Linked DNA regions of Homo sapiens: region 2 is linked to region 1. Evidence: promoter capture Hi-C in 16 types of primary human blood cells and fetal thymus (Javierre and others, 2016). All regions are on one chromosome and are shown on one strand. The core of a region is centred on a gene start or on the middle of the fragment in contact, and the rest is flanking DNA. Distances in the headings are between cores, read along the strand shown. Region 1 holds the start of PSMF1 (proteasome inhibitor subunit 1). Region 2 holds the start of SNRPB (small nuclear ribonucleoprotein polypeptides B and B1).

What was found. Contacts are between HindIII fragments. The CHiCAGO score rates a contact against its expected background, and 5 or more counts as called.
Region 2: a contact is called between the fragment with the promoter of SNRPB here and the fragment with the promoter of PSMF1 in region 1, in 1 of 17 cell types (neutrophils). The highest score is 7.5, in neutrophils.

The regions. Positions count from the first base shown.
Region 1 is chr20:1,115,865-1,120,776 of GRCh38, reverse strand. PSMF1 (proteasome inhibitor subunit 1) reads right to left here and starts at 2,175. Exons shown (of 7, transcript NM_006814.5): 1 at 1,875-2,175. The coding sequence starts at 2,003. It overlaps LOC105372493 (a long non-coding RNA gene), which reads left to right and starts at 2,329. Exons shown (of 2, transcript NR_136535.1): 1 at 2,329-2,393; 2 at 2,789-2,925. RefSeq lists enhancers at 1,903-2,032, 2,073-2,262, 2,273-2,322, 2,333-2,382, 1,782-2,424. The HindIII fragment of the contact is 12,206 bases long and covers 1-4,912 here.
Region 2 is chr20:2,468,198-2,473,109 of GRCh38, reverse strand. SNRPB (small nuclear ribonucleoprotein polypeptides B and B1) reads left to right here and starts at 2,321. Exons shown (of 7, transcript NM_003091.4): 1 at 2,321-2,422. The coding sequence starts at 2,420. RefSeq lists enhancers at 2,312-2,361, 2,372-2,421, 2,582-2,701. The HindIII fragment of the contact is 1,844 bases long and covers 1,893-3,736 here.

The DNA.
Region 1 (4,912 bases), core at 926-3,425:
AGAGCTGTTCCATCTGAAGGACAAGACAAAGGGCAGGGGGAGCTGAGGGCCAATGGAGGAGATCCCAGGTCAAAATCAAATCTTACTCCTCTTCTCAGCCCCACTGTCCCCTGCACCATCCCACATACCAGTTTCTTTGAAGAATCTAGGAAAAGTTGAAATAAAATGACTGGGGCAAGTGAAGAGCTGCTTAAGATTAAAAAGCTGGAGTAAGACAAGTGGGGAGACAAGATTTCTGTTAGGGGAACTATGCATTGAAAGAGGGGCCTGACGCTGAAATGGGGGTGCTGTCTCTACCTGGTCCCAAGGTCTGAAATGCTGGAAGACATTTGGAAGGTATGTGGAATGAAGAGCAGCACAAAGAGAAAGGTCAGGGACAGATGTGTTTGGGAAGGTGAAATGATTCCTGCTTCCAGGTATGTGTGTGTGAAAGGCTAGCTGTTCTTTTCCATCCTCATATCTAGTCTTAGAGCCCATTTGAGAGATGAAGTATGTGTGAGTTTGGAGGTGGGAATGGGGATCCTGAGTGTGTACCTGGGGTCCCAGTGAGATAATTGAGGTCTGGGGAAAAAAAGAGCCAGAAATCCCTGACGGTTCTTGTGTTCTGATTCCTGCTGGAGGGGGTAAAGTGTGAGAGGGGTATGGTGGTCTTGGTCTTTAGTTCTAAGAGACAGAGAGGAATAGGGACAGCAGTGAGGGGTGGGGGAAAGGGGATACTTGTCTAAGTGCTCAGAATGTACAAAGCAAGTTTGAAGAGAGGTCCCTAAAGCTATGTCAGGAGGGGAGAATTAAGACTCTATTTGAGAAGCTAAAAAAAATGATTAGAGGAGTTGAGAACTGAAGCAGTCAAAAAGGAGAGGAAGGGTGAAATCTCATGGCAAGATGCAATAGGTGGGGTGGTCTGTTTCCCATGGCTAGTCTTGGTTCTGAGAGTGAGAGAACAGTGACAGTGAGGGGCAGGCATGGAGGCAGGCCCACTTCTCCCAGGAAGCAGATGTCTAGGATGATGTGGATGTTGGGGATGAGGGTCACAGGGAAGAGACAGGAAAGAAAGAAGAATGCCAGAGCAAAGAATTAGTGAGGTGGGTTGGGTCCAGCAGTCCTAGAACTCTGTGGGGATGACAACGACGTCCCTAGCTGTAAGAGGTGGAGCCTGGGGATGGGAGAAGAGGGGCTGGCCCTATGGGGACAACTATGAGGAGAAAATCTTATATGACCCTCACACCCAGGGTGTATGTGTGTACGACTCTGGGGGTGATTGCTTCCTAGAGCTTGAGTTGGGGATGGCAGTAGCGAGTGGACTATGCTGGGCCCTTCAGTAAAGGGTGAAAGGCGTGTGAACTCTCTGGGCCCATGCTAACGGGTGAAAAAAGGGCCCTGGCCTGGGGCTGAGTAGGTCAAAGCTCACTCCTGTACCTGTGCTTGGATCCAGATGTTTGGTGGAGGCTCTACTGTGGTATGAGGGCGGAACTGAGTCAGTCCCCTCACCCCGAGGCTGGGTGGTAAGGAGTTCAGACGGGATCAGGTGGGTGAGAAGTGCTCTGGGGAGCTAAACTCCTGTCTAGATTCTTTGCCATTCTATGGAATGCTAGATCCACACAGTCCTGGCCTGAGAGGCTGCCAGGCTGTGTTGAAGCGAGTGTCCGCCCTTGAGTTTACAAATCATGTTGTGCCAGCTGTGCCGTGAGGGACTCTGGGCTGGGATGGGGCAGGTGAGCAACCTCCGACCCGCAGGTTTTACCAACGCTGCCATCTGCCCCAGACCCTGCACTGGGAGAAGCGGGGAAATCGGGCGCTCTGGACCAGGCCTCCGGTACTCTGAGTTTGGGCAGAAGACAGTTCCCTCCTCCACCCTGGCCGGCTCCGTGGCGTACCTGGTCACCGACACCCAAGCCGAAGTAACCGTGTGTCACCACTTCCCAATGCAAGAAGCAGACGAGCGCGTCCTGCCTGCAGGTGATGGCCGGCGCTGCCGATGCGAACAGTACCTCCAGGCCCGCCATGAGCGCCCGCGACTTCGGCGTCTGGAGGAAAGAAGGGGGCGGGGGTAGTGCAGTGAGCCGGCTCCGCGGCCGGGGTAGCTATAACTCTGCTTCCCTCTTGCGCTGGTTCTTGCCGAGTCCACACCTGAGACCAAAATGGAGACGCCCGGGGACGGGGCGGGGCGGGGAAGCCGGAAGTAGTCCCAACAGCGGGCGCAACTGCGTGAGGCGCGCCGGGTTGGCAACGCGAGCGCAGCACTGAAAGGTTCCGCCAGGGAGTGCGAGCGGGGCGTGGCCCCTCAAAGCCGGAAGCCGGGTCTTGGCGGCAGTCGACAGGATCGCCTGACGCGGGCACAGCGTCCTCCAAGAGGCCACCTTGCTGAGAGGCAGACTTCCCATCCACAAAATGGGGTATGCTAGGCCGGGGAAGGGGCTGGGAAATGTGGCTAAAATACATTCTTAATAATCGTTAACACGTTCGCCGTGCTTGCTACCGTCCACATTATTCTAAACGCTTTACTTGTATTCATTTATTTAATCTTCACAACCCAACTCTATGCAGTTGATATTAACGATTAATGTGCCTCATTGCACAGATGAGGAAACTGAGGCGCAGAGGGATAATTTGACCAAGATGACAACAGCCAGCCGGTGAACGGCTGAAATGGTTATGGGAACCTGGCAGTCTGGCTTCTAAGATAACATTTATTAAGTGTTTATTGTGTGCTACATCGTGCGCTAAAACCTTTACATCACCCTCTCAACAACTCTATGAAGTATGGACCGTTATTATCCCCATTTTGCAGATGACAAAACGGCTCAGAGTTGAAACCACTTCTCCAAGGAGACACAACTGCTGCCCGCAGAGCTGAAGCTCCTGACCCACTATCAAATTTCAATCATTTATTTGCCTACCCCCTTTATGATTTTTACCACCCGTTACTTCAACAAGTTTCATGAAATCCACTTATTGTTTTTACCCAAATAAATTTAGTTTCCCCATCCCAGTCACTAACCTGGTTCAAGCTCCTGTCATCTTTCACTTGGATGCCTGGCATCAGCCTCAGAACTGCCCCATTCCATTCCTGTCTCTCTCTAGTCTGTACTGCACTCCGCAACCAGAGAGATTCTGTTAGAAAACAAGTCAGATCGGCCAGGTGTGGCGGCTCATGCCTGTAATCCCAGCACTTTGTGAGGCCGAGGCAGGCGGATCACTTGAGGTCAGGAGTTTGAGACCAGCCTGGCCAACATGGTGAAACCCTGTCTCTACTAAAAATACAAAAATTAGCTGGGTGTGGTGGCGCACGCCTTTAGTCCCAGGTACTCGGGAGGCTGAGGCATGAGAATCAATCGAACCCGGGAGGTGGAGGTGGAGGTTGCAGTGAGCCAAGATCGCACCATTGCACTTCAGCCTGGGCAACAGAGCGATCTTCTGTCTCAAAAAAGAAAAAAAAAAAAAAAGAAAAGTCAGATCACATCCGTTGGCTCAAAATCGTCACACTCAATGGAAAAGTAAAGTCCTCCCCATGGTCTGCAGGAATCTGCATGTGGTCTGCCATCTCCTGCCCCAGCCCTGCCAGCCCTGTACCTCTCTGATTCAGTCTCCTTCAACTGTCCTCTCATCCCCTTTATACGTGCAATAACCTTGGCTCCCCCTCTTCTCTCACATCTACATCTGGTCCAACAGCAAAGCTAGTTGACTCCACTCTCAAAATATATTATGAATCTGACCACTTCCCATCACCTTCACTGCTTCCACTCTGGTCTGATCCTCCAGCATCTCACACTTAGACTATTGCAGTAGCTTCCCAGCCAGTTTCCCTGTTTCATGTGTTCTGTTTGGGCCTTTGCGTTCCTCTTCCTGGAATGCTCTTTTCCCAGATATCTGCATGTCTTGCTTCTTCATTTCAAGTGGCTTCATCCCTCACTCCTACCATCCTCAACAGAGGGCTTCCCAGACCATTCCATCCAAAATAACCTTCTCCCGTCTTTAATCCCTCTCTGGCTTTTTTTTTTTCCTGCAAAGCATTAATCATAACCTGAAACTATGTTAGGTGTTTATTTCTTTGCTTATTTAATGACTGTCTTTCCACTAGACTGTGACAAAGGAACAGGGAGCATGTCTACCTTGTGCACATATGTACCTGAGTGCCTTCTGGGATCAATCTATACTTATTGAAAGACAGAATGAATACTGAATGAAGGAATGAATTCTTGGCCTAGCCCCAACCCAGTCAGGGCACTCTTACCTCTTTATAGTCCATCACTCCCTTTGTCAGCTGGCCCTGTGCCTCTCCAAATTTTGTGTTCCTAAAGTTTCCTTGAGACAACCAGATTCTTGAACCCCTTCTGCAGAGATTCTGGATGAGAAGGTCTGAGGAAGAGTGCATGTATGTTGACTACATTCTGGATGACACTAAAGCTAGTGGCTGTGGAACTCCTCTCTGAGATGTACTGCCTGTGGCATAAAGCTATTTGCCCTTTCTACTGAGAAGTTCTGCACTTTCAGTCTTCCCTGCTTTTGCTTGCTCTGTCCCTTCTGTTTGTAATGCCCTTATCCAATTATGGAAAATTTCTACAGATTCATTCCATCAATAAACTTTCATAGGCTGGGCTGCCATGAACCATAGTGCAGGGTGTCCACTTAAGGTGCCTACTTAGTGGCAGCCCATTCCTAAGTGCCTACTGTGGGCCAGACACAGATGAACAGGTTCCTGTCCCTATAGAGCTCACTGTCTAGTGTTTAAAAAAAAAAAAAAGTACTGGCCAGGCATGGTGGCTCACACCTGTAATCCCAGCACTTTGGGAGGCTGAGGCAGGTGGATCACGAGGTCAGGAGTTCAAGACCAGCCTGGCCAACATGGTGAAACCCTGTCTCTACTAAAAATACAAAAATTAGCCGGGCGTGGTGGCAGGCACCTGTAATCCCA
Region 2 (4,912 bases), core at 1,072-3,571, 1.4 Mb before region 1:
GACATGGATGAGCCTTAAAAACATTGTGCTAAGTGAAAGAAGGTAGTCACAAAAGACCACGTATTATTATATGATTCCCTTTATATACATTTTCTAGAATGTCCTTCATAATATTCATCCTTCTGATAGACCTGAGTGTAGGTTCAGGTCTCTGCTCACATACCACTCCTCAGAGAAGTTTCCCCTGACCACCTAGCCAAAACTGTACCCTATCCCTCTCAGTTCCTCTGCCTTTATTTATTTTTTTCATATCACTCTAATGTTACATTGCATACTTATTTATTTGGTTTACTATGTCTTTCTCAGTAGGATGTAAAGCTCCGTGAGGGAAAGGACTCTATCCCAATAATGGTGCATGGCCTTAGTAGATGCTAAATAAAAATGATTTTAAATGCATGCATGAATGAAGTGTTAGGCAGCTGGGTAAGGTGGGGGCAAATGAACAGCTGAGGAGCCAGACGGACCTATATTCCCACTCTGACTCCGCCACTTTGGGCAACATAATTCATTTCTATGAGGCTTCGCCTCTTCATCTACAGGTGACAGGAAACGGGACAACAGAACACACCCTTTAGAGATGGTGTGAAGATGGCAAAGCACCAAGGTGGAAGCTCTCCTTGCTGGGTTTGAGGAACAGCAAGGAGATTAGTGTGACTGGAGAAGGATGAATGAGGGCAATGTTGACGGAGATGAATGAGGTTGGAGAGGAGCGCAGAGCTAGATTTTATTCCATGTGTGCTGGGAAGTTTTTGGTAAGTGGAGACCAGGACATGACATCATCTGATATCCCAGTACGTTTAGAAGGATCCCTCTGGCTGCCGTGAGAACAAGAAAGGAAGCAAAGAGACAAGTTACGGGCTCGTTCAATGATCCAAGACAGAGACGATGGTGGCTATGACTAGAGTGGACGCAATGGAGTGGGTGACAACAATCATATTCAAGATAATTTGAAGGTGGGGGCCACAGGATTTGCTGATGAATTTGATTATTCGATGGCAGAGAAAGAGAAGAATGAAATATGCTTCAAATTTGTCATTTTCTTTTTTTTCTTTTTTAATCCAAGAAACTTCGGGGATGGGGAACACTGGTGAAGTGGTTTTAGAAACAGTGAATAGAATCAAGAATTCAGTTTTCAACATGTTAAATTTGGTATACCTATTAGACATTCACATCACGCTGGCAGCTGGATATAAAGGGCCAAGAGTTAAATGAAGAGACCAAGGTTAGAGGAACAAACTTGAAAGCCTTGGGTGTATATGCTGTATTTAAAAGTCATAGGAAGGGCCCAGTGTGATGGTTCACGCCTGTAATTCCAGCACTTTGGGAGGCCAAAGTGGGTGGATCAGGAGTTCGAGACCAGGAGTTGAGGTCAGGAGTTCGAGACCAGCCTGGCCAACATGGCAAAACCCCGTCTCTACTAAAAATACAAAAATTAGCCGAGTGTGGTGGCACAGGCCTGTATTCCCAGCTACTCGGGAGGCTGAGGCAGGAGAATCGCTTGAACCGGGGAGGCAGAGGTTGCAGTGAGCCGAGATTGTGCCACTGCACTCCAGCCTTGGTGACAGACTGAGACTCTGTCTCAAAAGAAAAAAAAAAGTCATAGAAAAAAAATAAATGTCATACGACTGGATGCGATTATCAGCAAATATGGGTAGAGCCCTTATTTTGTGCTAAAGTGTTCTAGGCACTACAGCAATGAGTAATACACAAAGAGAAAAATTCACACCCTTATGGATCTTACATTCTAATGGGGAGGGGATAATAAAATAACTAACAAAAATATACAGCGTGTTAGATAGCAAGAGGGAAATACAGGAGAGATGAGGATGAGGTGGGTGGGAAGGTTACAGGATGGCTAGGGAAATCCTCACTGGGAAAATGTTATTTAAGCTTAAACCTTGAAAGAGGTGAGGGCAGCAGCCTTCTGGTATACCTTGGGGACTACCATTCCAGGCAGAGGCGAAAGCAAATGCAGAGGGGCTGAAAAAGGAGCACGTCCAGCCAGTGGAGGGAAAAGCAAGAATAGTGACTGTAGAGGAGAGAGCCGGGGAGGGTGATGGGAAATGAGGACCGAGAGGTTAATGGGAAAGGCGGGGTGAAGAGAAATGAGTGTGACACAGAGCAGCTCTCAGTACGGATTTAAGCTAGGAAGGTGTCCAAACAGGAACTTAAGGCTCTCCTTACGTCAAAGCCGGATGTTAACGCCCAGTCCCCAGGCCCCGCCTCTGCTCGGCAGAAGCTCCGCTCCGGGGCCGGAACTCCAGGGCTAGTGAGCTGGACCGGAAGTAGGTTTCTACCCGACCGCATTTTACGTGGTGCTGCATTTCCGGTAGCGGCGGCGGGAAATCGGCTGTGGGAGAGAGGCTAGGCCTCTGAGGAGGCGAATCCGGCGGGTATCAGAGCCATCAGAACCGCCACCATGGTAAGGAGGGCACAGGCTGGCGGCGCGGGAGCTTCCGAGTCTGTTGTGGAGTGGGAACCGCGACTGATCGGGGAGGAAGCCGTGGGTTGGAGCCACTTAGGGCGGTGAAGGCCTGGGCCGAGGCCGCTCGGTCTGGGCGGGAAAGACCAGGACCTTGGCGGTTCGGCTAGGCATGGGGTCGAGGAAAAGGTTGGAACCGGTGTCGGAGGCCGAGGTCGCTCGGCAGGGGCGAGGGTAGAACCGCGGCTCTCGACACCGCTGTAGCCATAATTCCTGGGACCCAGTAGGCACTAAGTTAACTTTTGCCGAATAAATATATGTCCCGGGCTTCGGAGCAGGCACTGGAGCCGCAGGGGGACCCGGTAAAAGGCTCAGACTTGCGGAAGTTTGTGAGTCTGAGAAAGAGTTGGCGGAAGTGGGTGGAAGGGGCTCGTGGACCACGCTAGAGTCTCGCTAGGTCTGCTGGATGGAGAGGAGGGCGGAGGAGGGTGATGGCGAATGGAGGAAGAGCTCCACTCAGTTGCTCATCACGTTTCCGTGTTTGCCTGTGCCTGACTTCTCAGGCGCTGGGGCTACTCTCTGAAATATGTTTGCTTCCTTCACAGAGGTAGCTGGGGACACATAATATAATTCAGTGTGGTCATTCGGTAAAAGTAACGGCAGCGGGGCGGGGTAAGAATGTTTTCTCAAATAGATGGTTCCTGAGCAGATTCCTAAAAGATTAGCAAGAATGTTCCCGGCGAAAATGGGGGGAATATTACAGACCCGGAGAACTGAAGGAACAAAGGCTGAAGGGTAACAAGATTTAAAAAGTTACTGGATTTTTCTGCGTTTGTTGACTGAGAAAAAGTTGCTGGAGGAGAAAGGAAGAAAGAAGGGAAGACGGGAAGAATTGGCAGGAGGCTAGTTACTAAAGGCCTTGCATGTTAATTTTACCTCAGTGGTGGTGAGGCATGTCATTGAAGGATTTAATTTAATTTATTTTTATTTTTTTGAGACGGAGTTTTGCTTTTGTTGCCCAGGCTGGAGTGCGGTGGATCGATCAGGGTTCACTGCAAACTCCACCTCCCGGGTTCAAGCGATTCTCCTGCCTCAGCCTCCCAAGTAGCTGGGATTGTAGGTACCCGCCACCACACTTGGCTAATTTTTTGTATTTTTAGTAGAGACGGGGTTTCACCATGTTGGCCAGACTGGTCTCGAACTCCTGACCTCAGTTAATCCACCCACCTTGGCCTCCCAAAGTGCTGGGATTACAGCCGTGAGCCACCACACCCTGCCCACTGAAGGATTTTAACCAGCAAAATGACATAAGCTTAGTGGTGTTTAGAAAGATTGCTCTAGCTCTGGCATGTATATTCGATGGGACTGGAAGCAGGGAAACCTGGTAGGATATTGTTTGGATAACTGGTTAGAATAGGCGCTGGATTCATTTTGTCTAGGTTCCAACACAGCTTCCCAGCTGTGAAACTGGGCAAGTTACTTAACCTCTCCTAGCCTCAGTGACCTCATCTGTAAAATAGGGATAATAATGGGCCCAATTTTGGGGATTAAATGAGATGTACTGTGCTTATCACAGTGCCAGATACACAGTGAGCACCCAGTAAACATTAGTTGAGCTGGACCAGTGAATGTTGCCCTAAAGGTTCAGATCCCTTGTGGTTAGAAGCTGGTTAAAATGGTCATTGAATGGAAACTGAACCACCTAACCTGAGGGAGGCTCGCAGTATCTTTGTGTGGAGTCAAGTTTTGTTTTTGTTTTTTTGAGATGGAGTCTTTCCCTGTCACCCAGGCTGGAGTGCAGTGGCATGATCTCAGTTCACTGCAGCCTCCACCTCCCAGGTTCAAGCGATTCTCCCATCTCAGTCTCCCGAGTAGCTGGGATTACAGGCACCTGCCACCACGTGTGGCTAATTTTTGTAATTTTAGTAGAGACGGGGCTTCGCCATGTTAGCCAGGCTGGTCTTGAACTCCTGACCTAAGGTGTTCTGCCCACCTCGGCCTCCCAAAATGCCGGGATTGCAGGAGTGAGCCACTGAGCCCGGCCATGGAGTCAAGGTTTTGATCTGCATATTTGCAGGTTCAGAACTTTGTTGTCTGAGCTCACAGAGATGAACAGATGTCCATAGAAGGCACTTGGTGGGTTAGGACTTGGGTATAGCAGTCAGACTGATGGGAGGATGATATACAGATCAAATGCCAGGTGATTTGTTTATAGAGAGAAATACAACTGCTTAGGGTACCTGACAGTTCACAAAGTGATACCTATATAGTCACTTCTTTATTTTAGCACATTGGAACCCAGGTTATGAAAGCAGAAATGTTTGTTGGGTTAAAGACCATTATATGTCCAAACTGGTTAGCACCCTAACCATCAGAAGTTTCCCTCTGCCAAATATAGTCTTGGAGGCACACTAACAAATTCTTGATATGTGGATTTCATTTTTCACCTTGAAGCTGATCTCCTTCCTGATAACAAGCTTCTTGTTGATT